2 separate regions of the Homo sapiens genome follow, and region 1 is linked to region 2. Evidence: promoter capture Hi-C in human tissues and cell types (Jung and others, 2019). All regions are on one chromosome and are shown on one strand. Each heading gives the region's core, a stretch centred on a gene start or on the middle of the fragment in contact. The rest is flanking DNA. Distances are from core to core; before and after follow the strand shown. Region 1 overlaps ZNF677 (zinc finger protein 677). Region 2 holds the start of ERVV-1 (endogenous retrovirus group V member 1, envelope).

Region 1 (7,468 bases), core at 2,338-4,837, 230 kb before region 2:
GGAAACTCTGCAAATGGGAAAGATCAGTGGGAAAACAAAAGTTTATTTCTTATGAGCTCTCAAAGCAAGGTCCACACCCGCTCCTACTGTCCCCCAACATACTGTTATTCAAATGTGTAAAAGGTTGAACTCCCACTCTCCCGTGATGCCCCAACTCATACAGACACAAAAGCAAAGGTGCTATCATGACCTACAATACTGTTTGGCCCCTCTGACCATTTTGGTCTCTTGGTTTTGAGAGGGACCGAAATGGCTGTTTTTAAGGACTCTCTTTTAGTGTATATAATTTCATCTGATGTGTGGTTTTCAGTCTATACAGATCAGAGCTGGGGCCTTTGTAGCCCTGGCTCCAGAACCTATTCAATTTCTATTCCTATTTCTTATACCTGCAAGAACTTTTCAGGAAAATGGGAAAACAGTGGCTCCCCCAAAATGTATCTGGGGTTCCCTGAAATTTGAAAGACTGTCGGTCTCTCTACTTGTTCAAGCCCCTTGGCCATTCCTTCAGTTCTGCTTTTGCCACATGTGTCTAAAGGGGAATGGGCAGGCTTTTGAGATTGTTACTCAGCATTAATGTAAAGACTTGACAGAGAGATCCTCTTTTTGATTGCCATTCCAAAATGGGAATATATCTCATTCTTTTAGGTTCTCACCTTGCAGCCTGTGGACAGAGCACACTGCCTCTTCCTTAGAATCCTACAAAATCCGACCCTTTTATTTTACTCCCGTACCTTTTATTTCTCTCCCTTTTCTAGCTTTCTACTCTATCCGGGAACTTAGGGAGACCTTAGTCTTCCTGATTCCATATTCTTCTAAGATTTGCCTCTGAAAGTTGCTTTTGAAATACACATTCCGGATGGGCGTGGTGCCTCACGCCTATAATCCCAGCACTTTGGGAGGCCGAGGTGGGCAGATCACCTGAGGTCGGGAGTTCGAGACCAGCCTGACTAACATGGAAAAACCCCGTCTCTACTAAAAATACAAAAATTAGCCGGGTGTGTTGGCGCATGCCTGTAATACCAGCTGCTCGGGAGGCTGAGGCAGGAGAGTTGCTTGAACCCGAGAGGCAGAGGTTGTGGTGAGCCGAGATCACGCCATTGCACTCCAGCCTGGGCAACAAGAGCAAAACTCCATCTCGAAAAAAAAAAAAAGAAAAAGAAAAGTACACATTCCTAGAGTCTGAAATTTCCTCTCTTTCTGCTGTGATAACCCACCAATAGGCGATGGACAACTTTTGGTGGACTCTCCCATGGAAGAGGTTTCCTTGGTGACAGAACATTCTTGAAAGAGAACATTAATTAATCTGTCACAGTATCATTCTGCTACATAGAGGTGCCTCTTGAAGCCACTGAGTAGAGTAGCCTGCATGTCCCAGTATGCTGAGAGAGAATCAGGACAGCCGGAGGGATAAGTGCTTCTGACCTTCTGGTTTCTGTGGAGTTTCCAGTGTCTCCCAAGGGCAGTGTGACAACGCTGGTTAGATATATGCTGATCATCCTCTTGGAGCCAGCAGTACAAGGTGTAGGAGTTTCTCCTGGGAAGAGCATTCTCCAAGTTCTCAACCTCATATCTGCGAACATGTTGACCAAACTGTTGCTCATACCACATTATTCATCCCATACGTGCAGTTGTACATTTTTCTTCAGTATGATTTTTATGCCTTTATTGAGGGAGCTTACAAAGTTGAATTAGGCATACATTTTTAAAGTTCAGTATAATTTGGTTAAGCCACTGACACTTTCATTTTGCCAATGTCATTGGTATAAATGAACTTGTATGTATTTAATCAGCAGTTACATGTTTTCATGATACTCTTAGTGTTTTTTGTTTTATATCTACAGTGTGTGGGGCCATGAGATGAATGAATATTGTTTTATTATATATATTTTTTTCTGCTTCATATACTTTCATGATGTTTTATATGTTTTACCAGAAGATTTCTTCCTTGAGTATTTATGTCTGAGTATTAGTTTCCTCAAAACATATATAACCTCCAAAACTTTGTTAAAGGATAGTATTAGTTATTCCTTTTACTTCTGTTTCCTGTAACTTTATATCAACTCTTAGCTTATACTTTTTAAAAATAGACTTTCTATTTTTTAGCAATTTTATGTTCACAGCAAACTAGATTTCCTGTATACTCTGTTCCCCCACACGTGCACAGCGTCTTCCCCCATTATCACCATCCCCCATCACAGTGGTACATTTGTTAAAATTGATAAACCTACATTGACACATCATTATCACCCAAAGTCCATAGTCGATGTTGGGGTTCACTCTATGTATATGCTTTGGGTTTGGGCAAATATATAATAGACATATATCCTCCATAATAGTATCTTACAGAATAATTACACTGCCCTAAAAAATCTGTGCTCTGTCTGTTCATCTCTCCCTCCCCCCAGCACCTGGCAACCACTGATCTCTTTACTGTCTCCATAGATTTGCCTTTTTCAGAATGTCATATAGTTGGAACCATATAGTATATGGCCTTTTCAGATTGGCTTCTTTCACTTAATAATATGCATTTCAATTTCTAGGGCTGGGCGTGGTGGCTCACGCCTGTAATCCCAGCACTTTGGGAGGCCGAGGCCGGCGGATCACGAGGTCAGGAGATCAAGACGATCCTGGCTAACATGGTGAAACCCCGTCTCTACTAAAAATACAGAAAATAAGCCGGGCGTGGTGGCGGGCACCTGTAGTTCCAGCTACTCAGGAGGCTGAGGCAGGAGAATGGCGTGAACCTGGGAGGCAGAGGTTGTGATGAGCCGAGACCATGCCACTGCACTCCAGCCTGGGCAACAGAGCGAGACTCCATCTCAAAAAATAGATAAATAAAATAAATTTCTTCCATGTCTTTTTATAGCTTGACAGCTCATTTCTTTTTAGCACAGAATAACATCCCTTCATTGCACACACTGTGTAAAGAATGACTCCTGCTTATACACAGGACAGCTTACTCAGGACAGCAACATGATCTGGTCACTGTCTAAACAACTTGTGCAAGATAAGGTGACTTAAATGCTATCTGAGAGCAGTGGTGCTGTCACACTATAGGTGACACAGCTCAGGTCCCATAATCTGCCTTGAAACATTTCTTCCTACACTCCTCGTATTTGCTGTGATTTATAATCCGTGCTGCCCTGGGTGGCCAGTGGTGCTTAATGCTGTGAACATGGCATCTTAGCCCGCACACACAGGTTCAGATTCTGGCTTTCAGATGTGCTTTCTCTGTGAGTTAGGGATAGATATGTAAACCTCTTCAGCCCTTTGTTTTGGTATGAAAAGGTGCGATAATTTACCTCAAGAGGATTTACATCAATTAGTGCTGTTAGAGACCTTAGTAACTTGCATAGCATTTAGTATGCTTTGAAAAGTTACCTTTATGAATAAGATATGTCAAGTGTCTGTCATGTTTCTTATGAGATTGACCTTTGCCTTCATTATATCTTACATATTTTCTTTTTTGTAATTTTTTTTTTCATATCAACATTTCTCTGACTCTACATAATAAAATGTTAAAGCACACAGCTTTCATTATATGTATTTTTTGGCCATAGAACTGGAAAACTAGATGACATTTCCTAGTCAGGGAGTTTCTCTATATACTGCTGTCATATAACTGCAGGCATGAAATTATTTCAGACTCCCCTCCTAATTCTTCATCTTTATAGTAATGTGCATTTACCTGAAGCTGATATTTCAAAATTTAGTGATTCTCAACATATTATTTTTCCTATTGTGTGTCCCTTCTGTTTTTTCTGTAGTTCATAAGCAGTAATTCTTTAGAATTTCACTGACAATTTTGTGTAATTGTGGTTGTTCATTAACTTGCCTGTTAGATTTTCACAGGTTACTAAAGTGTTTTATTTATTTTTGTAATGATTTACAGATGATGGTTTTTCAGTATATATTATGCAATAGAACCACCATGCACAAATTGTTAATGCTGCAAAATGCACATTCTACATGGGTGTAAGTAGTTTTATAACAAGTACTCACATTTGCAATTTGTAAATATTCAAAATTTTATTAAATTCTTCCGAATTTTTTCTTTCAGTGTTTTGTTTGCAATTATGAATTGTCATTTTTAAATATTTTTTATTAGATAAGCTTGAGCTGTGCCTTACCTTTTGTGTGTAATAATTATGTACTAAATAATGCATTACTATTTGTTTATCTTCAAATATGAGACTACCATATAGCTATGCCAATTTACGTGTTCCTTGGAGTGGTGGTGGAAAAATACCTCTTCTTTCAGAGTTTATGTGGATTTACATAGTATGAGTGTTTTAGCTATAGGGTGTTTTAAACTGTGCTTAAAATAATTTGTTACATGTTTTGTTACTGTGTTACTTTATTGAGGACAGCTAGTCCCTTTGTGTTGTTAAACGTTTAAAGACAGTTGAGAAGCTTCATAACTCTGTTCATTGTAAATCTTAGCTTTCTTGTAATATGTATTTTAATAAAATATTTACCTTGCAACTCTATTTGATGGAAAGCCTGTGGTTTTTTTAATATCTTTCAGATATTTCTGTTGGATTTACAAGCAAGGGATTATCACCAAAGGAAAATAATAAAGAGGAATTATACCATCTGGTGATATTAGAAAGAAAGGAAAGCCATGGCATCAACAATTTTGACCTCAAGGAAGTCTGGGAAAATATGCCTAAGTTTGACAGCCTGTGGGACTATGATGTAAAAAATTACAAAGGAATGCCTTTGACCTGTAACAAAAATCTCACTCACAGAAAAGATCAACAACATAATAAATCCTCAATACATTTCTCTTTAAAGCAGAGTGTTTCTATAAGAGATAGTGCACACCAGTATTTCATCCATGACAAGCCATTTATAAGGAATTTGTTAAAACTGAAAAATAACATAAGGTATGCCGGAAACAAATACGTGAAGTGTTTTGAAAATAAAATTGGATTAAGCTTACAGGCACAGCTGGCTGAACTACAGAGATTTCAAACTGGGGAGAAAATGTATGAATGTAATCCAGTTGAGAAGTCTATCAATAGTTCCTCAGTTTCACCACTTCCTCCTTGTGTCAAAAACATTTGTAATAAATATAGGAAGATTTTGAAATACCCTTTATTACATACACAGTATGGGAGAACACACATTAGAGAAAAATCATACAAGTGTAATGACTGTGGAAAGGCTTTTAGCAAAAGTTCGAACCTCACTAATCATCAGAGAATTCACTCTGGACAGAGACCTTACAAATGTAACGAGTGTGGCAAAGCCTTTAACCAGTGTTCGAACCTCACTAGGCATCAGAGAGTCCATACAGGAGAGAAACCATATCAATGTAATATATGTGGCAAGGTCTGTAGTCAAAATTCAAATCTTGCAAGTCATCAGAGGATGCATACTGGAGAGAAACCTTACAAATGTAATGAATGTGGTAAGGCATTTATCCAGCGTTCACACCTTTGGGGTCATGAAAGAATTCATACTGGAGAGAAACCTTACAAATGTAATGAATGTGACAAAGCCTTTGCTGAACGTTCAAGCCTTACCCAACATAAGAGAATCCATACTGGAGAGAAGCCTTACATATGTAATGAGTGTGGCAAAGCTTTTAAGCAGTGCTCACATCTCACTAGGCATCAGAATATACATCCTGGAGAGAAACCACACAAATGTAATGTGTGTGGCAGGGCTTTTATCCAAAGTTCAAGTCTTGTGGAACATCAGAGAATTCACACTGGAGAAAAACCTTACAAATGTAATAAATGTGATAAAGCTTTTATCAAACGTTCACACCTTTGGGGTCATCAGAGAACTCATACTGGAGAGAAACCTTACAAATGTACTGAATGTGGCAAAGCCTTTACTGAACGTTCAAATCTTACTCAGCATAAGAAAATCCATACTGGAGAGAAACCTTACAAATGTACTGAATGTGGCAAAGCTTTTACCCAATTTGCAAACCTCACTAGACACCAGAAAATACACATTGAAAAGAAACATTGTAAACATAATATACATGGTAATGCTTTATTCCAAAGTTCAAACCTTGGAGATCATCAAAAAAGTTATAATAGAGAAAAACATATCAAATATAATGAGACAAAAATTAAGTATTCAAGCTGTACCTAGCATCAGGGGCTCCATTGTGAAAAGAAACCATATAAAACGAAAATGTGGTAAAGCCTTTAGCTATGGCTTATGTCTCACTTGATACCAGAATATACATCTTTGAGATAAACCACACAAAGATAACATGTATGGCAAGGCTTATCCAAAGTTCAAGCCTTGTGGAACATCATAGAATTCTTACTGTAGAGAAGCCTTACAAATATAATGAATGTGAACAGCTTTATAAAAATATTTACCCTATTATGGTTATAACAGAAGACATTCAGGATGGAAACCATACAAATGTGGCAAGTCCTTTAAGCAATGTTCTGACTTCAGGATACACCATTCATATTGGAGAGAAGCATTACAAGTGAAGGTGGTAAATTATTTTAAATTTCTCAATGGAAATTCATCCTTATATGCAAGCATTTTGTCATACAAAAATTCAGGCTAGAGGGAACTAAGTCTTTTTTCCTTCTTGAAGATTAAGTGATTGATGTTAAATTCACAGACAATTTTAAAAAGTCACAAACTCATGGTGTGTGTCAGAGGAGCAAGGACATCTGTGGAAAGATGTAACTTCAGTGTTAAAAATTTTTTATTCAGTTATTTCATATTTTTAAAAGTATGAAATCTGTTGCTGTTAAATCTTCATGGCATGCTTTTCATTTATCATGATTGTCTCAAGGAATGGATGTAAGATGGAAGGGACTACTTCCTTAGGTGTGGCTTCTTTATATTACTGAAACCTGGAAAAAGCAAGAACACTAATTTTTTCTTTTTTTGGAGACAGAGTCTTGCTCTGTCACCCAGGCTGGAGTGCAGTGGCACCATCTCAGCTCACTGCAACCTCTGTCTCCCGGGTTCAAGCAATTCTCCTGCCTCAGCCTCACGAGTAGCTGGGATTACAGGCATGCGCCATCATGCCTGGCTAGTTTTTTGTTTTTTTGTTTTTGTATTTTTAGTAGAGACAGAGTTTCGCCATGTTGGCCAGGCTGATCTTGAACTCCTGACCTCAGGTGATCCACCTGCCTTGGCCTCCCAAAGTGCTGGGATTACAGGCATGAGCCACCGTGCCCAGCCAAGAACACTAATATACAATATACTATAAGAGCATGGGGGTTTGTGCCAGAAGAGAGGTAAAACTATTGTCTAACATATATGCTTTATGTGGTCAGGACCCCTTAGAATTGTTGATGTGACTGGGGACCTTTGTCGATTATAGGAGAGATTGGTTACAGTACAAGATGACCATGAAACAAGAAGAGTAGGGTGGGACATTGAGAGATTTTCATGGAAGTGAAATGGTCGGTTACTAGAGACTGCATATGTGGTAGAAAGAAATGGAGGGGGAATGATAGTCACCCTCTCT
Region 2 (7,062 bases), core at 3,899-6,398:
TAAATGATAACCAAACACCATTAAGGTGGCTTTTTTCAATCCAAATTCCCAAAGCACAATTAGTAGGTAGGACAGTAGAGACTCTCACTCCCCTTCTCACTCATCACTTATGCCAAAGCATTTGTTACTGGTAGTCTTCCACACCCTGCTCATAAAAAGCCCTTGCACTTTTCTGTTTCAGAAACCATGTGTCTATCACAAGCTGATTAGTACGGAAGAAACTCAGATAGAAAAAATTGCTGGGCACGATGGCTCACGCCTGTAATCCCAGCACTTTGGGAAGCTGAGACGGGCAGATCACCTGAGGTCGGGAGTTCAAGACCAGCCTAACTAACATGGAGAAACCCCATCTCTACTAAAAATACAAAATTAGGCATGGTGGCACATGCCTGTAATCCCAGCTACTCAGGAGGCTGAGGCAGGAGAATCACTTGAACCCAGGAGGTGCAGGTTGTAGTGAGCTGAGATTGTGCCACTGCACTCCAGCCTGGACAACAAGAGTGAAACTCCATCTCAAAAAAAAAAGAAAAGAAAAGAAAAGAAAAAGAAAAAAAATTAAGCTGGTGTGGTGGCTCACACCTGCAATCCCAGCACTTTGGGAGGCCAAGGTGGGTGGATCACTTGTGGCCAGGAGTTCGAGACTAACCTGAGCAACATGGTGAAACCCTGTCTCTAGTAAAAATACAAAATTTAGCCAGGCATGGTGGTGTATGCCTGCAATCCCAGCTACTCAGGAGGCTGAGGCACGAGAATCACTTAAACCCATGAGGTAGAGATTGCATTGAGCCAAGATCATGCCACTGCACTCCAACTTGGGCAACAGAGCAAGTCTGAGTTCCACCATATTATTTAATAAACATTAATAGAGGAAATGCTCTTTTTAGATCCTAACTGTAAGGGTATATTCAATTACATTTTTAAAAGCTATATCTCTAACCCATGATGATTAAAGTAAATGAGTGAAAACTCCGTTGGGTGTGGTGGCTCATGCCTGTAATCCCAGCACCTTGGGAGACCAAGGCAGGCTGATCATCTGAGGTTGGGAGTTTGAGACCACTCTGGCCAACATAGTGAAATTTCATCTCTATGAAAAATACAAAAATTAGCCAAGCAAGGTGGTGTACACCTGCAATCCCAGCTACTCAGGAGACTGAGGCACAAGAGTTACTTGAACCCAGGAAGCGGAGGTTGCAGTAAGCTGAGGTCACCCCATGGCACTTTGGCCTGTGCGACAGAGCGGGACTGTCAGAAATAGAAAGAGAGAGAGAGAAAGATTTATTCTATGTAATTCCCACTTATTGTAAAACTGAAAATAACAATGAATTATCAGTTTTATACCTACTTACGTAAAATTACTTCATCTTTCAATTAGTATTGCTATTACTGTTTATGGTTATGGAGCAGAAGCTCAGTCTGTTTTAGTTGCAATACGAGAGGGTGGTGCCTCATTTTGTGCTATGACTCCACAGTGGATGAGTGGAGAAAATTAGTAAATATTGTGCAAAACCAAACAATTTATATGTTTCTGATAAGATTTAAAAATTCTGTATTCCTTGTCTAGAGGGCAAAGCAAAGACTAGATTCTGTGGAGTCACTTATGAGCAAAAAGAAGCTGACAGCTTCAAAACATGTATTGATTAAGGTAGAAGCATTCACCAGCCACCAACTGGGATTGTTTATTTATTTTTTTCCTTTTTGGTGAGGATTTCTGGGTTTGGCAAATATTATTTTGTCTTTAATTATATTTTTCCCAAGATATAAAAAATGGAGTAAAGAGTGTTTCTTCAATGATTTCTTGGATAATTGAGTACAGTTTGTATTTACTAGTTTAGATATACTAAATCCTCCATTGCTTCTTCAGGAGGGATTGCACAAAGACCTTTGTTACCAGGAGGGGTGTGGAGGTCCTTCAGTTTATCTTCCTGAAGGAAAGAATTCATCTAGGAGGCACACAGAAAGAGTTAAATCGTTAAGTAACCTTTATTTAAAGACAGGAGGTCAAGAAGAGACAGAACTGGCTGCTGCAGAGAGTGAGTCAGCTGCTAGTGACTTAGGAGGAATTCCCCGCCGCCCTCCCCAGATGGAGTCTCCTGTAGCCCAGGCTGGAGTGCAGTGGCGCAATCTTGGCTCACTGCAACCTCCGCCTCCTGGTTTCAAGTGATTCTCCTCCCTCAGCCTCCTGAGTAGCTGGGATTACAGGTGCGTGCCACCAGGCCCGGCTAATTTTTTTGTATTTTTAGTAGAGACGGGGTTTCGCCATGTTTGTCAGGCTGGTCTCAAACTCCTGAGCTGTGATCTGTCTGAGGATCCGCCCAAGGAAGTGCAGGGATTACAGGCCTGAGCCACCATGCCTGGCCTGGGAGGAATTTTTATGGGGGCTTTTAAATAAACAGTACACCCTGAAAGACAGAACAGGCTGGGCTGCTCAAATGAATGAGTCTGTCTCACCAATGCTGGGGAGACGCTTCTTTTTGTTTGTTCGTTTTTTGAGATGGAGTTCCCCTCTCGTTGCCCAGGCTGGAGTGGAATGGCACGATCTTGGCTCAACACAACCTCTGCCTCCCGGGTTCAAGCGATTCTCCTGCCTCAGCCTCCCAAGTAGCTGGGATTACAGGCATGCGCCACCACGCCCAGCTAATTTTGTATTTTTAGTAGAGACGGGGTTTCTCCATGTTGGTCAGGCTGGTCTCGCGCTCCCGACCTCAGGTGATCTGCCTGCCTCAGCCTCCCAAAGTGTTGGGATTACAGGCGTGAGCCACCACACCTGGCTGGGGAGATGCTTCTTATGAGAATTTTACATGATTATTCATGAAGGGGTCATGCAGGGGCGTTACTAGTAAGCATGTGTTGGGAACTGGTCTGGGCACACATGTGCCATGTCATTTGGATCTAAAGTCTAACAAGGAATTTCTGGTTAAAAAATAAAATCTCCACACAGGTGTGTGGTTTTTTTTATTATTTTAATGAACAAAATGGTATATTAGGGTGAATTATTAGAGAAGTATACATGCTTCTTAGTGGGGAATAGCTCCTACCTTGGTAACCTCTGGCTGGGCCTTGATAAGTTCCCTTCTGGAACAGAGGAATGCAGCCACAAGGCCAGGTGTAGCCAGTGTAGCCACGCTCCTCCTTTTGCTGACTCAGCGTGCAGCGTTTCCAAGGAGGCCATCAGCGGGCTGCATTTCTAAAGATTCCTTTCCCAGGGGCTTCCTTGCCTGCTCTTGTCTGGCTACCTGCCTACCCTAACAGTATTCCCCCTCAAGAGTTGGAGACCCTGAAAAGCTTTGGGCATAAGGACGTCGTGGGTCTTCTGTAACTACTTCCTGCTGACGTGGGACGAAGAAGTCATCAGGGTCTCCCTCTCTTGCTCTCTGTCAGGGAAGGAGCCCCTCCGTAGTTGCAGAATCTTTGCCCACTGGCATCCAAGGGAGATATGTACTTGTAGGTGCTGGGACCTCCAAGGAAGATTGGATGATCTCTTTCCATTTTTAGGGGCTCTGTGTGAAATTGCCATATCCTGGAAGAGACATATTTAATTAGTGAATTATAGAGACAAGGGCCAAAGAGGAGAAAGCAGGCTATTAAGTGCAGCTGGTCCCAGTAAAGGGACAAACCATGTGAGGGAGGGGAGGGCAGACTTCACAGCCTCCCAAATGGACCCTGCTGAATCACCTTTTCCAAAGTTATGGAGCCACGTAACCTCATCATAGATCTTTTTTATATCCTCCTCTATCGCCCCACTGTTATTGACATAAATGCAACAGGATTTACTGATCACTGCACAGACTCCACCCTGCTCTGCTAAGAGGTAATCTAAGGCCAATCTGTTGTTCATGACTACATTTGCTAGAGAATCTATGGAGGCCTTGAGTTTAGAGATGCTATCTCTGGTACTCTTAGCTATGTTGTCTATTTGTCTGGAGAGATTTCTGAGGGTGACATCATGATAAGTGAACCCTCCCCATGGGGCGATCATTCCTATGGCCGCACCCATCCCTGCCAGTATTAGACCCAGAGCTCTTTTCTGTCTGGGTTGGGTGGTGTTATAAATGGTCACACCTATCCCCCGTGGTCCCAAAAGTCCCACAGCACATTCTCCCGTATGTTGGATGTTATTAATGCAAGTGTAGAGGTTTGCCACAGGGGGGGTTGAATAAGTTATCTTAGGACTTCCATCAAAGGGCAGTTTATTTTTTTGTGGCCCACATAAAAATACATAGCCAGGAGGGGTACAGGCCCACCGGGGGATGTGGCTGTCGAACCACTTGTGTAACTGCGATTTCCACCCTGCTGGAATAGTTTGATTGCATGCAGGGGATAGAGGCCCTCCCAGGGGAACAGTAGATTTTGGCCATGTGGGGACAGTGTGTGCCTTGGGAAGCAAATATAGAACCCTCCATGTGATTAGCTCTTTTCCTTCCCAAGCTGCACAGCGGTTTTGGGGTGACTTGTCTCGATAATCGTTCATTTGTTTAGCTGGACACCAGTGAGTCAAGTTAGGGTGGCAGCCTGCTGGGGAGAAGCTCATGGGATGGATGGTGGGACTGGGGAATCCCTCCTCAGAGGTGTTCTTCCTGTCACAGTGTCCTTCAGGGCATGGACAACAGGTTTGGTTTAGAGAAGAGCAGTTGTAGAAATAGAAAGAAGTTTTAGAGCTTTGATTGAAAGGTGGAGTGAGATCCAGGCAGGGGACTTGGTGCGCTGAGTTAGCAAGCGAAACCTGGAGCGGAACAGATTTATGTTGGCCTTCAGGGATTCCTGAACCAAATGTTAGGTTTAAAGAAAAATTTCTTACCAAAATATATTGGTAAGATGAGGACCTGGTGATGAAGTTGTGGCAGATCCAACAGTTGCTTAGATGGTTTCCCGAAGCAATTATTTTGGAAAAACTGACAAGGGAATTTTCATTCCACTGTGCCTGTGAGAGTAGGGGCATGGGAAGGAGGGAAAGATAAAGGAAAAGGAATTTCTCTGTCATAGCTGATTCTCCCTTAAGCTTTGTGAAAGCAAAAGGAAAGTGCTGAAAATAGGAGAGACAAATAATGAAATGGTTCGATGGAGTGTTTAGTGAGAAATCAGGCTGTTATCGGGACTTCAGGTGGCATGCCAGTGTGGGTCAAAATAAGGAGAAGAACCGATGCCACCGCAACCAAGATTCCCCGTACTGAGAGACCTTTTTTTGAGGTGAAAGGAGAGAAGGCTTTACTTATCTTTTCACTTGAAGAGGAATTGGAAGCTCTCCAGTGGCTGGCTCATGAGACTACTCAGATGCTGATTCTGTTGTTGGTTCTTCGGGACCTTCTCACAGTTTTACTCAGGAGTGATGTATCCAACTAGAGATTCCAGAAACTTTGATAGCTGTCGGGGTAGAAAGTAATAAAGGGGCCTTTCCATAAAGGAGAGACCCAGGCTAGTTGAGACCTGGGTGACCCATCTCTCCAGGTTTTGATGAGGACTTGTGACCCTGGCTAGTATAAGGGTTGATTACTGGAGGGGTCAGTGGCAGGCAGTACCTTTTGCTCAAACTCCTGGATGGCTTGTTGAAATTGGGCCAGTGATGTTATGTATTTGATTAATTGGGTAACTTCTGGATCTAACATTAGGTCTGCATGTAGGAAGGCATAAGTAATATTAGGGGTCATGCTCAGAACAGTGCTACGGACAGGAGTTCTAACCATGGTGAGGAGGTTTCCTGGCACACTTTGTTCAGGGTCCTTTTAATAGTTTGATTAGTGCTTTCTACCTTGCCAGAGGAATGTGTTCTCCAGGAGTGCTAGGAGTACTTTATTTCTAGGGCTTTTGTCACTAATTAAAGGGTGCGTGAAATAAAAACTGGGCCGTTGTCACTTTGTAAACACAAACTAAACCCACACTGAGGGGTGATTTTTTTTTTCTTTTTGTTTTTGAGACGGAGTCTCGCTCTGTTGTCCAGGCTGGAGTGCAGTGGCACAATCTCAGCTCACCACAAGCTCCACCTCCCGGGTTCACACCATTCTTCTGCCTCAGCCTCCTGAGTAGCTGGGACTATAGGCGCCCGCTACCACACCCACCTAATTTTTTCTCTTTTTTAGTAGAGACAGGATTTCACTGTGTTAGCCAGGATGGTCTCAATTCTCTGACCTCGTGATCCGCCTGCCTCGGCCTCCCAAAGTGCTGAGATTACAGAAGTGAGCCACCACGCCCGGCCGGGATGATTTTTTTTTTTTTTTTAAGAAGTACCTTGGCTACTTCCTGGGCCTTTTCTGTTCTTGTAGGAAAGGCTTTAACCCACCCAATAAAGGTGTCCACAAACACCAGAAGGCATTTATAGCCTCTACAGGCTGGCAATTGAGTGAAATACATCCATCAGTCTTTCCCTGGGTAAGCTTCCCAATGCTGAACTGGCTCAACTAAGCAGGACAGGGAGCTGCATTGGCTCTGGCCGGTTGTCCTGGGTCACAAGGAGGCAAGGCTACGCGTTTGAGGCCAACCTGGGCAACATTGAACAAAAAAAAAAATTTGGCTGGGCACGGTGGCTCATGCCTGTAATCCCAGCACTTTGGGAGGCCGAGGCAGGCGGATTACCTGAGGTTGGGAGTTCAAGACCAGTCTGACCAGCATGGAGAAACCCCATCTCTACTAAAAATACCAAAAAAAAAAAAAAATTTTTTTTGGTCTTTTTTTGGTGGCACCTGCCTGTAATCCCAGCTACTCAGGAGGCTGAGGCAGGAGAATCGCTTGAACTTGGGAGGGAGAGATTGCGATGAGCTGAGATCACGCCGTTGCACTCCAGCCTGGGTACTAAGAGTGAAACTTTGACTCAAAAAAAAAAAAAAAAAAAAAAAAAAGCAGGGCAGCGTAGGGCCCTGGGGGCTATTACAGGCACAGGATGCACAGGTGTTAAAGACCTGACAAATAGTCTAGTAGAGCCCTTTCCTGGAAAAGAGGTTTTTGCACATGTGCTGGAGATGATGTCTCCCAAAGTGACATGACTCATGGAGTGCTCTCACAAGTTTTTACTGGAGGGCCTAGGAAAGTGGAGAATTCCTCCCACTGTATACCACACCTCAGGTTCTCGGGTAG

What was found. Contacts are between HindIII fragments. The study calls those that stand out against the background at their distance.
Region 1: a fragment that was not itself captured here is called in contact with the fragment with the promoter of ERVV-1 in region 2 in 3 of the 25 tissues and cell types used here (dorsolateral prefrontal cortex, heart right ventricle and mesenchymal stem cells).

The regions. Positions count from the first base shown.
Region 1 is chr19:53,235,618-53,243,085 of GRCh38, reverse strand. ZNF677 (zinc finger protein 677) reads left to right here. Exons shown (of 5, transcript NM_182609.4): 5 at 4,529-7,468. The coding sequence ends at 6,114. Among named protein-coding and RNA genes, the nearest start is that of ZNF677, 16 kb to the left of the region's middle. The HindIII fragment of the contact is 4,510 bases long and covers 1,333-5,842 here.
Region 2 is chr19:53,012,007-53,019,068 of GRCh38, reverse strand. ERVV-1 (endogenous retrovirus group V member 1, envelope) reads right to left here and starts at 5,148. Exons shown (of 1, transcript NM_152473.3): 1 at 2,946-5,148. The coding sequence starts at 4,978. The coding sequence ends at 3,545. The region is part of intron 1 of LOC124904758 (a long non-coding RNA gene); the gene reads left to right. The HindIII fragment of the contact is 3,820 bases long and covers 4,140-7,062 here.